Regions from separate parts of the Homo sapiens genome. Here region 1 is linked to region 2. Evidence: promoter capture Hi-C in 16 types of primary human blood cells and fetal thymus (Javierre and others, 2016). All regions are on one chromosome and are shown on one strand. The core of a region is centred on a gene start or on the middle of the fragment in contact, and the rest is flanking DNA. Distances in the headings are between cores, read along the strand shown. Region 1 overlaps LINC01560 (long intergenic non-protein coding RNA 1560). Region 2 holds the start of GRIPAP1 (GRIP1 associated protein 1).

Region 1 (3,874 bases), core at 1-2,500, 1.5 Mb before region 2:
CTGGAAGCATTAAGGTTGAAGTTTTCTTCTAAAGATCAAAGTTTTGATTTGTTATATTAGTTCGGATTTGTTTGATTTTTGTTTGTGTTCGGTTTCAAGTGCTGATTTGTAACTTTTCTCCCCCCCCCACACACGCCTTTTGACCCCTGAATTATTTAAAAGTCCATTGTTGGAGTGGCAAACATCCTCCGAGACTCAAAGGGCAAGGCCATGGGCGCTTTATTCCGGCTGCTGCTCCAGGAACGTGGGAAAGCAGCGGAGTTTTATTCTAGGGGAAGGAAACAAAGGCGGCCGAGTGCCAGCTGCACGTTTGGTGGGATTTGGTCATCAGGGGTGGACATGCTGCCCAATGGAGCTGTCGGCAGTTTGACCCAGCTTGGTCCGTCGCGTCCTGTTCTAGGAATCGATTATTCAAAGAAGGAATTTAGAGGGACTGCAGAAAATGTTACAGGTCTTAACACCATTTTGCATTTCCGCAAACGAACAAGAAGTTAATCCCTGTGTTAGTGATTTCTAAGCCCATTTGCCTTGTGGCCCAAGAACGTTGAGTTTGAAATTTGATGAAACTTGCCTTAAGGCTCAAGTACGAGGCCAGCTTTCAAAAATGGTTTTGTGCCTTGATTGAAAACACTGTATCTTCTAGTTGTTGGATTTATCGTACTCTGCGGCTCTATTGGTTCAAGCTTGTGCGTTGGGCCTTTTAAAATGTGTGTTTCCTGATAATTCCCTTCAGCTTGTCAACTGGGGGTGATGTGGCAGGGAGAAAGAGAGAGAGGAGAGAGAGAGACTGTACTGGCAGGTTTTCCTTGTGCTATTCAATTTTTGCTTCCTATGTTTTGAAGTTTTATTATTAACTGCAGGTTTCATTACTGAATAGATATAGCCAAATTCCTTCCCCCAAAAGATTATAAAGTTTCCTAGTCCTACCAGCAAAATCATTAAGTTCATTAAGGCAAATCCCCTCCAGCGCTGGATGTTGATGCTGTCTTTAATTTTGTATTTTTCTGACTACTTTGTGCAATTGAGGATTGTTTTGGTCTATTGGCCATTTGGCTTTTCTCTTTTGCAAATGTTCATATCCTTTGTCCAGTTTTCTTTAGGGTGATTTTTCCTTTTCGTATCAATTTGTAAACAGTGTACAAATTACATTGTACATTAGGGATATTAACAGTCTGTCAGTTACACTGTACATTAGGGATATTACATTAGAGATATTAACATCTTTGTCCATTAAGGATATTAACCATCTGTCAGTTACATTGCAGTATTTTTCCCTAAACTCTTTTTGTCTTTTGCATTTTATGTTTTTTTAAATGTGCAATTAGAAAAATTTTATATGGGCTGGGCACAGTAATCCCAGCACCCATCTCTACTAAAAATAAAAAAAAAAATAGCCAGGCGTGGTATCTCAACTAAAAAAAAAAAAAAAAATTGCCGGGCATGGTGTTGGGCGCTTGTAATCCCAGCTACTCGGGAGGTTGAGGCAGGAGAATCGCTTGAACTTGGGAAGTGGAGATTGCAGTGAGCTGAGCTCGGGCCACTGCACTCCAGCCTGGGTGATAGAGCAAGACTTCATCTCAAAAAAAAAAAAGAAAGAAAAATTGTATGTGTAATATGTAACTAGTGAAATGTAGCCTCTGATCAGATATGTCTAAACTTTCTTTTATGGCTTTTGTATATCCCATCTTGCCTAGTTTCACTTCCCTATTCCAGATAGAAAGATAATCTTAACATGTATTTCAGTGTTTTTATTGCTTTAATTTTTTCTACTTTAATCTAGTTGGAATTTACTCTGGTATATGGTATGAAATCAAGATCAAGCTTGAACAAGAAGCCTGTGTCACACTTTTTTCTGTGTCAAATAAAAAGAGACTTTAATTAGAAAGACAGACTATTGCAAAAGGGAGAATGCTCCCATCTCAGAAACCTGAGAGCATCTTGAAACCAAACAGAAAAAGGCTTTTCTTGTAGAGGGTAAGGAGGCAGGCAGAGATAAGCAGAATCTGTGGAAAGGAAGCTGCACAAACAAGGGGGAATGGCCAGTGGGGTCTGCCAGGAAATTGTCCCACAGTGGTGCGCCCATTCCCAGGAGAAGCTGAGAAGCAGGGTCCATTGGGAGGGGAGGAATTTCGACTTTTTTTGATGCTTGCCCAGGCTCGGGGGCAAGCAGAGTTAGGAGCTTGTAGGAAAGAAGCCTGGTTCAAGTTTGGCTAAAGAGCATTTTGTTCCAATTGATCAGTGGAGACAAGCAGTTAGGCTTGTCATCTATGAGGCAAAGAATGGGAATTTGGAGAGTGGGTGTCTGGCCTTCTCATAGGTAAACAGGGGACATCCGTGACTTCTAAGTCATATGGGGAAGGATGGTTCTTTGCAGTAAGCCATTTTCCAGAAAAGCCATTTTCCCTTTGGAGTAAGGGGATTTCTTGACCTGCACTGCTCACCAGGATGAGGTAAAATTCAGTATTGCCAGTTGGCACCATTTATGAAACACACCACCTTGTAACCACTGAATTAAATATTGCTTCTGTCATATAAGTTCACAAATATGCTTAGCTTGACCTGAACTCTATTTTGTGTCTGTAGTCTATTTGATTTCAAGGGATTTTTGTTCTTGCAAATTTATTTTCTAGGAATTCTCTGAAGTTTAAAATCATTTAATCAAAAATGAATGCTACCAACCCGTCCCCCACCCCCCGCAAAAAAAAACAAAAACACAGCAAAACTAAATTGTTGTGACTGGGCGAGGTGGCTCATGCCTATAATCCCAGCATTTTGGGAGCCCAAGGTGGGCAAATAACTTGAGGCCAGCAGTTGGAGACCAGCCTGGCCAACATGGCGAAACCCTGTCTTTACTAAAAAATAAAAAAATTAGCCACCCGTGGTGGCAGGCACCTGTAATCCCAGCTACTTGGGAGGCTGAGGCAGGAGAATTGCTTGAACCCAGGAGGTGGAGGTTGCAATGAGTAGAGATCACGCCACTGCACTCCAGCCTGGGCAACAGAGTGAGACTCTCTCAAAAAAAAAAAAAAAAAGCAAACCCTCAACTATTGCTGGGTGAGGTGGCTCACACCTGTAATCCCAGCACTTTGGGAGGCCCAGGCAGGCAGATCACTTGAGGTCAGGAGTTTAAGACCAGCCTGGCCAACATGGTGAAACCCCATCTCTACTAATAATACAAAAATTGGCACAGTGACGCACGCCTGTAATCCCAGCTACTCGGGAGGCTAAGGCAGGAGAATTGCTTGAACCCGGGAGGCAGAGGTTGCAATGAGCTAAGATCGTGCCACTGCACTCCAGCCTGGGTGACAGAGCAAGACTCTGTCTCAAAAAAAAAAATAAATAAACTATTATGATTTTATTGGAATTATATTTATATGAATATAATAGTTGGGGAGATTTAATGTTTTTATTACATTAAGCCTTTCTTTGTATCTAGGGATTTTATGTGTCTGTTTGATTACGTCTTATATGCTGCAATGATATTTATAATTTTTCTTCTTATAAATCCATCATCTTTTTATCTTTTTTGGTTAAATTTATTTTTTGCATATTTATATTTTTGTTGTCATTAAGACTTATTTTTGCTAGTCCCATCTGGTTACTGCTAGTATAGGAATAACCTATTTTTGTACTTTTCTCTTTTATTTTTATTTTTTGAGATAGGATCTTGCCTTGAAGTTCACTGGCATGATCACAGCTCACTGTAGCCTTAACCTTCCAGGCTCAAATGATCCTCCTTCCTCAGCCTCCCAAGTAGCTGGGACTACAGGTGTGCACTACCAGACCCAGCTAATTTTTAAATTTTTCCGTAGAGATAGGTTCTCCCTATGTTGCCCAGGCTGGTGTCAAACTCCTGGACTCAAGTGATCCTCCC
Region 2 (4,311 bases), core at 1,729-4,228:
AAGACTGGTGAGTTCTGGTGTCGGGAAAGCAGGGAAACTCAGCCTCAGCCAGTGGCAAGAAACTGAAAGGCCTTCCTGCCAGGCCTCTGAGGGAAAACCTCGGACACCATTCCCCAAAGCCACCCCCATCTAATAAGGCCCTCCTGGCTCACCAACACCATTCTTGCGTAGTTCATCTGAAAGCTGGTAGTTGTTTGTCCGGAGTTCCAGGAGCTGAGCCTTTGGGGGAGGCAGGAAGGGAAAAGACTTGGTCAGGAAAGCGCCCCTACCCCTACCATGAGGGAACCAAGCCCCTAAGCTCCACAGACCTTACGCCCTCCATGTGCCTCTGTAGCTACTCCTTAAGACCTGTATGTGCTACACCCAAAGTGACCTTCCAGGCCCTCAGACCCTGGCTCACCTTTTCCAGCTCCACTTATAACCCCAGCCAGCCTCACCCCTCCATCTCACACTACAATCCACGCTGCACTCAGGCCATCCCAGAGCACTGCCCCCAGTCAGGGTCTTGCTTGTGTGAGTTCCCTGGCTCTCCATGCCCACAGGATAAAGTTCCTCCTCCTCATCCTGGCTGACCTCTCCACACACTGAACACACACTGTCAGGGGTGTTGTCCATATTTCTGACCAGACCTGGGGGCCTCTGATGGCAGGGGGTTAAGGGCCTGTCTTCCTCCCTCTTTCCTAAGGGAAAAGGGTCAAGTATTCTGCCCAACTTTCATTGAGTCAGGGGGCTTTCCAGGGTCCCCCCACCTCCAAGGCTCTCAAAATACATCCAGGCCCCCTTCAATAATTAAGGGAGGACCAGGTGCGGTGGCTCACACCTGTCATCCCAGCACTTTGGGAGGCCAAGGCGGGTGGGTCACGAGGTAAGGAATTCAAAATCAGCCTGCCCAATATGGTGAAACCCCGTCTCCACTAAAAATATAAAAAATTAGCCGGGTGTGGTGGCGCACACCTGTAGTCCCAGCTACTCGGGAGGCTGAGGCAGGAGAATCGCTTGAACCTGGGAGGTGGAGGTTGCAGTGAGCCGAGATTGTGCCACTGCACTCCAGCCTGGGTGACAGAGTGAGACTCTGTCTCAAAAAAAAAAAAAAAAAAAAAAAAAAAAAAGAATTAAGGGAAAGTGCCAGGCGCAGTGGCTGACACCTGTAATCCAAACACTTTCGGAGGCCAAAGTGGGCAGATCACTTGAGGTCAGGAGTTCAAGACCAGCCTGGCCAACATGGTGAAACCTCATCTCTACTAAAAATACAAAAATTAGCTGGGCGTGGTGGTACGCACCTGTAATCCCAGCTACTAGGGAAGCTGAGATAGGAGAATCACTTGAACCCGGGAGGTGGAGGTTGCAGTGAGCTGAGATCGTGCCACTGCACACTATAGCCTGGGTGACAGAGAAAGACTCTGTCTCAAAAAAAAAGAAAAAGAAAAAGAATTAAGCATCCTCCTCCCTACCAGCCCTATAGGACCCTGAGGCTGGTTCTACCCAGCAAGGCCGGTTCCTTCCCATTAAGGAACTTACTGTTCCTTCCCCTACCAGGACTTTTCCCTCCCTCCCACGCCACCAGCCTCCACTCACTGTTCTCTGGTAGTCTGCTCAAGGTCAGAGGGCTTGGCCTTCACAGAATCTTTCCTACTCCTGTCCTCTCCAGGACCCAGTGATCTGTCTCTCCAAGTACTGGTCCAAGTGGAATATCCTTTGTACCCCCCGAGACTTGCCCCCCAACAAAGCCCAGTAGTTCTCCCTCATTCATGGCCCAGTGGGATCAATGTTCCTCATTCAAGGGTATTCCCACTCCCCTCAAGATCTCCCCAGTCATGATCCATTGGGAATGGCCCTACACCCTTCAGGGTAGGCCTCTACAAGGCCTTGGGTAGGCCAGTTGGATGACTCTTACTCACTTAGAATCCCTTTCAGATGACAGTGGTCTTCCCCATTCATGGGTTAATCAACTCGCCCTTCCATTCTCAGTGTCCCTCACACAGGGACAGCTGGTTTCCCTCATTCAAGGACCAATTGGATTACCTGTCCTCCCTCAGAGTTCCTCCCCTCCCCATGCAGGACCCTGTTCAGACCCCCCCCCCAGTGAGGAACCCTCTCAACAAGGGCCCATTCATAGTGCAATGCTATGGCCTTTCATTGCATCTCAGAGTCCCCCCAAAAGAATCAAGTGGGGGTACCTCCCCAAAGCCCAGTGATCTTCCCTCCTTGTAGTCCAAGGTATCAATCTTTTACCCCTCTGGTCCTCCCCCCAGTTAATGGGATTAATGGTATTACCCATTCATGGCCTTCTTCACCCCAGGCCTAATGGGATCACCCTTAATCATCCAATGGTGCCGCCCCCTCTTAGGATGCACTACCAACCACCAATGGCACAGGATCTCCACCTCCCAGGAACAATGACAACATCTGGGGTCTTTCCCCAATCCCCGGGCACAGTGGTATCTCCCCCAAAACTTACCACCTCCCACCCGCTAATGGTTCTGCCCTCTCAAGGGCTCCCACCACCATGACGCAAACGACCCAACACCCGCTTCCTTCCTCTCCAGACAAAATGGTTTCGCCTTCTCAGGATCTCCTTCCCTCAAAGCCCATTATCATCACCCGCCGACGGTGTCCCCTGCACGGGCCCAAAAGTCTCGTCCCCTCCAGGTCTGAGTAAGGTACCGCCTACTTAATGGCGCTCTCCCAGCCCACAATGCTAACAGAGTCCAACCTTCAAAGCCGCAGAGTATCTCGGAATCCAATAGTCTCACCACTCCGAGCCTCAGTTTCCCTTCTCCAGACCCACCCCATAAACTCAGGGTCCATCCCAACCAACCCCTTCTCAGAGCTGATAGCACGACCTCTCGCTACCCCGCCCCCGGTCGCCTAGCCGGGTGGTCTTTCCCACCGCGAGCGGCACCTGCATCCGCTGAAACTCCTCCTCAGACAGAGCTTGCGCCATGTTCCTCCCCCCACCCCCCCGCCAGCTTTCTGCGCAGACGCAGCTCGCGCCTCCTGGCAGTATTAAGGTCGGACCAAACCACTGGCCAGGAATGGAGGGGGTAGAACCTAATTCCGAAGGGCAGCATTTTGGAGACGCAGAGAAGAGAACGAAACCGACGAGTCAGGTGAACTGTAATACAACGTTCTACCCGAATGTAAGTCATCTGATTGGCTTTTGGACTCTTCTAGGCCACCCATTGTGATACGACATTATTACATCCCCGTTTCATGGGTGGACTCGTCGCTAGGGAAGTCTTTGCCGACAGAAAATCACCCTTCCGCGGTATTCCTTTAATGAGAATGGGTAACTTAATAACCATAGAAATGAAAGCGGAAGCTTCGCTCTGGTCTTGTTCCCGCCCCTCCTCCGGGAGACCCCAAAGGGGAATCCCACCTCTTGTAAAGCCTTTGGCCTTTTTTTTTTTTTTTTTTTTTAAGGTTTGACACTTATTTTGTTATCATGATACTGCATGTCACGTTAGGTAAAGGACTTAGCCACCAATAAAAATAGCAGAGTGGAAAGAGTGACAGTGAATCAAACGAAAAAGCTACATTAAAACAAAACAAAAACAAAAAACAAACCAGGGTGGTGAAACACCAGGCTCATTCAAGTATTAGAATTCACTATAACCCTCACCGATCTGAGAGTAAGAAATGGTATCTCAGTGTAGTTTTTTTCTTATTTTCTTTTTTCTTTCTGTTTTTGTTGTTGTTGTTGTTGTTGTTTTTCTTTTTTGAGACGGAGTTTCACTTTTGTTGCCCAGGCTGGAGTGCAGTGGCACGATATCCGATCACAGCAACCTCCGCTTGGCGAGTTCAAGCGATTCTCCTGCCTCAGCCTCCCGAGTAGCTGGGATTACAGGCGCCCGCCACCTCGTCCGGGTAATTTTTTTTTTTTTTTTTAGTAGAGACGGGGTTTCTCCATATTGGTCAGGCCGGTCTCGAACTCCCGACCTCAGGTAGTCCGCCCGCCTCGGCCTCCCAGAGTGCTGGGATTAAGGCGTGAGCCACCGCGCCCAGCCTTCTTATTTTCGTAGAATTTAATGATTTCCCTGCTGTGGAAAAATATTTCCAGCAGGGCCGGGCGCGGTGGCTCACGCCTGTAATCCCAGCACTTTGGGAGGCCAAGGAGGGCTGTTCACTTGCGGTCAGGAGTTCGAGACTAACCTGGCCAACATGGTGAAACCCCATCTCTACTAAAAACACAAAAATTGGCCGGGTGTGGTGGTGGGCGCCTGTAATCCCAGCTACTCGGAAGGCTGAGGCACGAGAATCGCTTGAACCCGCCAGGCAGAGGTTGCGGTGAGCCGAGATCGCACCACTACA

The links. The method cuts DNA at HindIII sites, captures the fragments that hold promoters and counts their contacts. A CHiCAGO score of 5 or more calls a contact.
Region 1: a contact is called between a fragment that was not itself captured here and the fragment with the promoter of GRIPAP1 in region 2, in 1 of 17 cell types (activated CD4 T cells). The highest score is 5.0, in activated CD4 T cells.

The regions. Positions count from the first base shown.
Region 1 is chrX:47,483,395-47,487,268 of GRCh38, forward strand. It overlaps LINC01560 (long intergenic non-protein coding RNA 1560), which reads left to right. Exons shown (of 1, transcript NR_126059.1): 1 at 1-1,833. Among named protein-coding and RNA genes, the nearest start is that of ZNF41, 2.1 kb to the left of the region's middle. The HindIII fragment of the contact is 1,138 bases long and covers 682-1,819 here.
Region 2 is chrX:48,999,286-49,003,596 of GRCh38, forward strand. It overlaps GRIPAP1 (GRIP1 associated protein 1), which reads right to left and starts at 2,979. Exons shown (of 26, transcript NM_020137.5): 1 at 2,903-2,979; 2 at 153-219; 3 at 1-14. The coding sequence starts at 2,944. RefSeq lists an enhancer at 2,988-3,097. The HindIII fragment of the contact is 9,873 bases long and covers 1-3,320 here.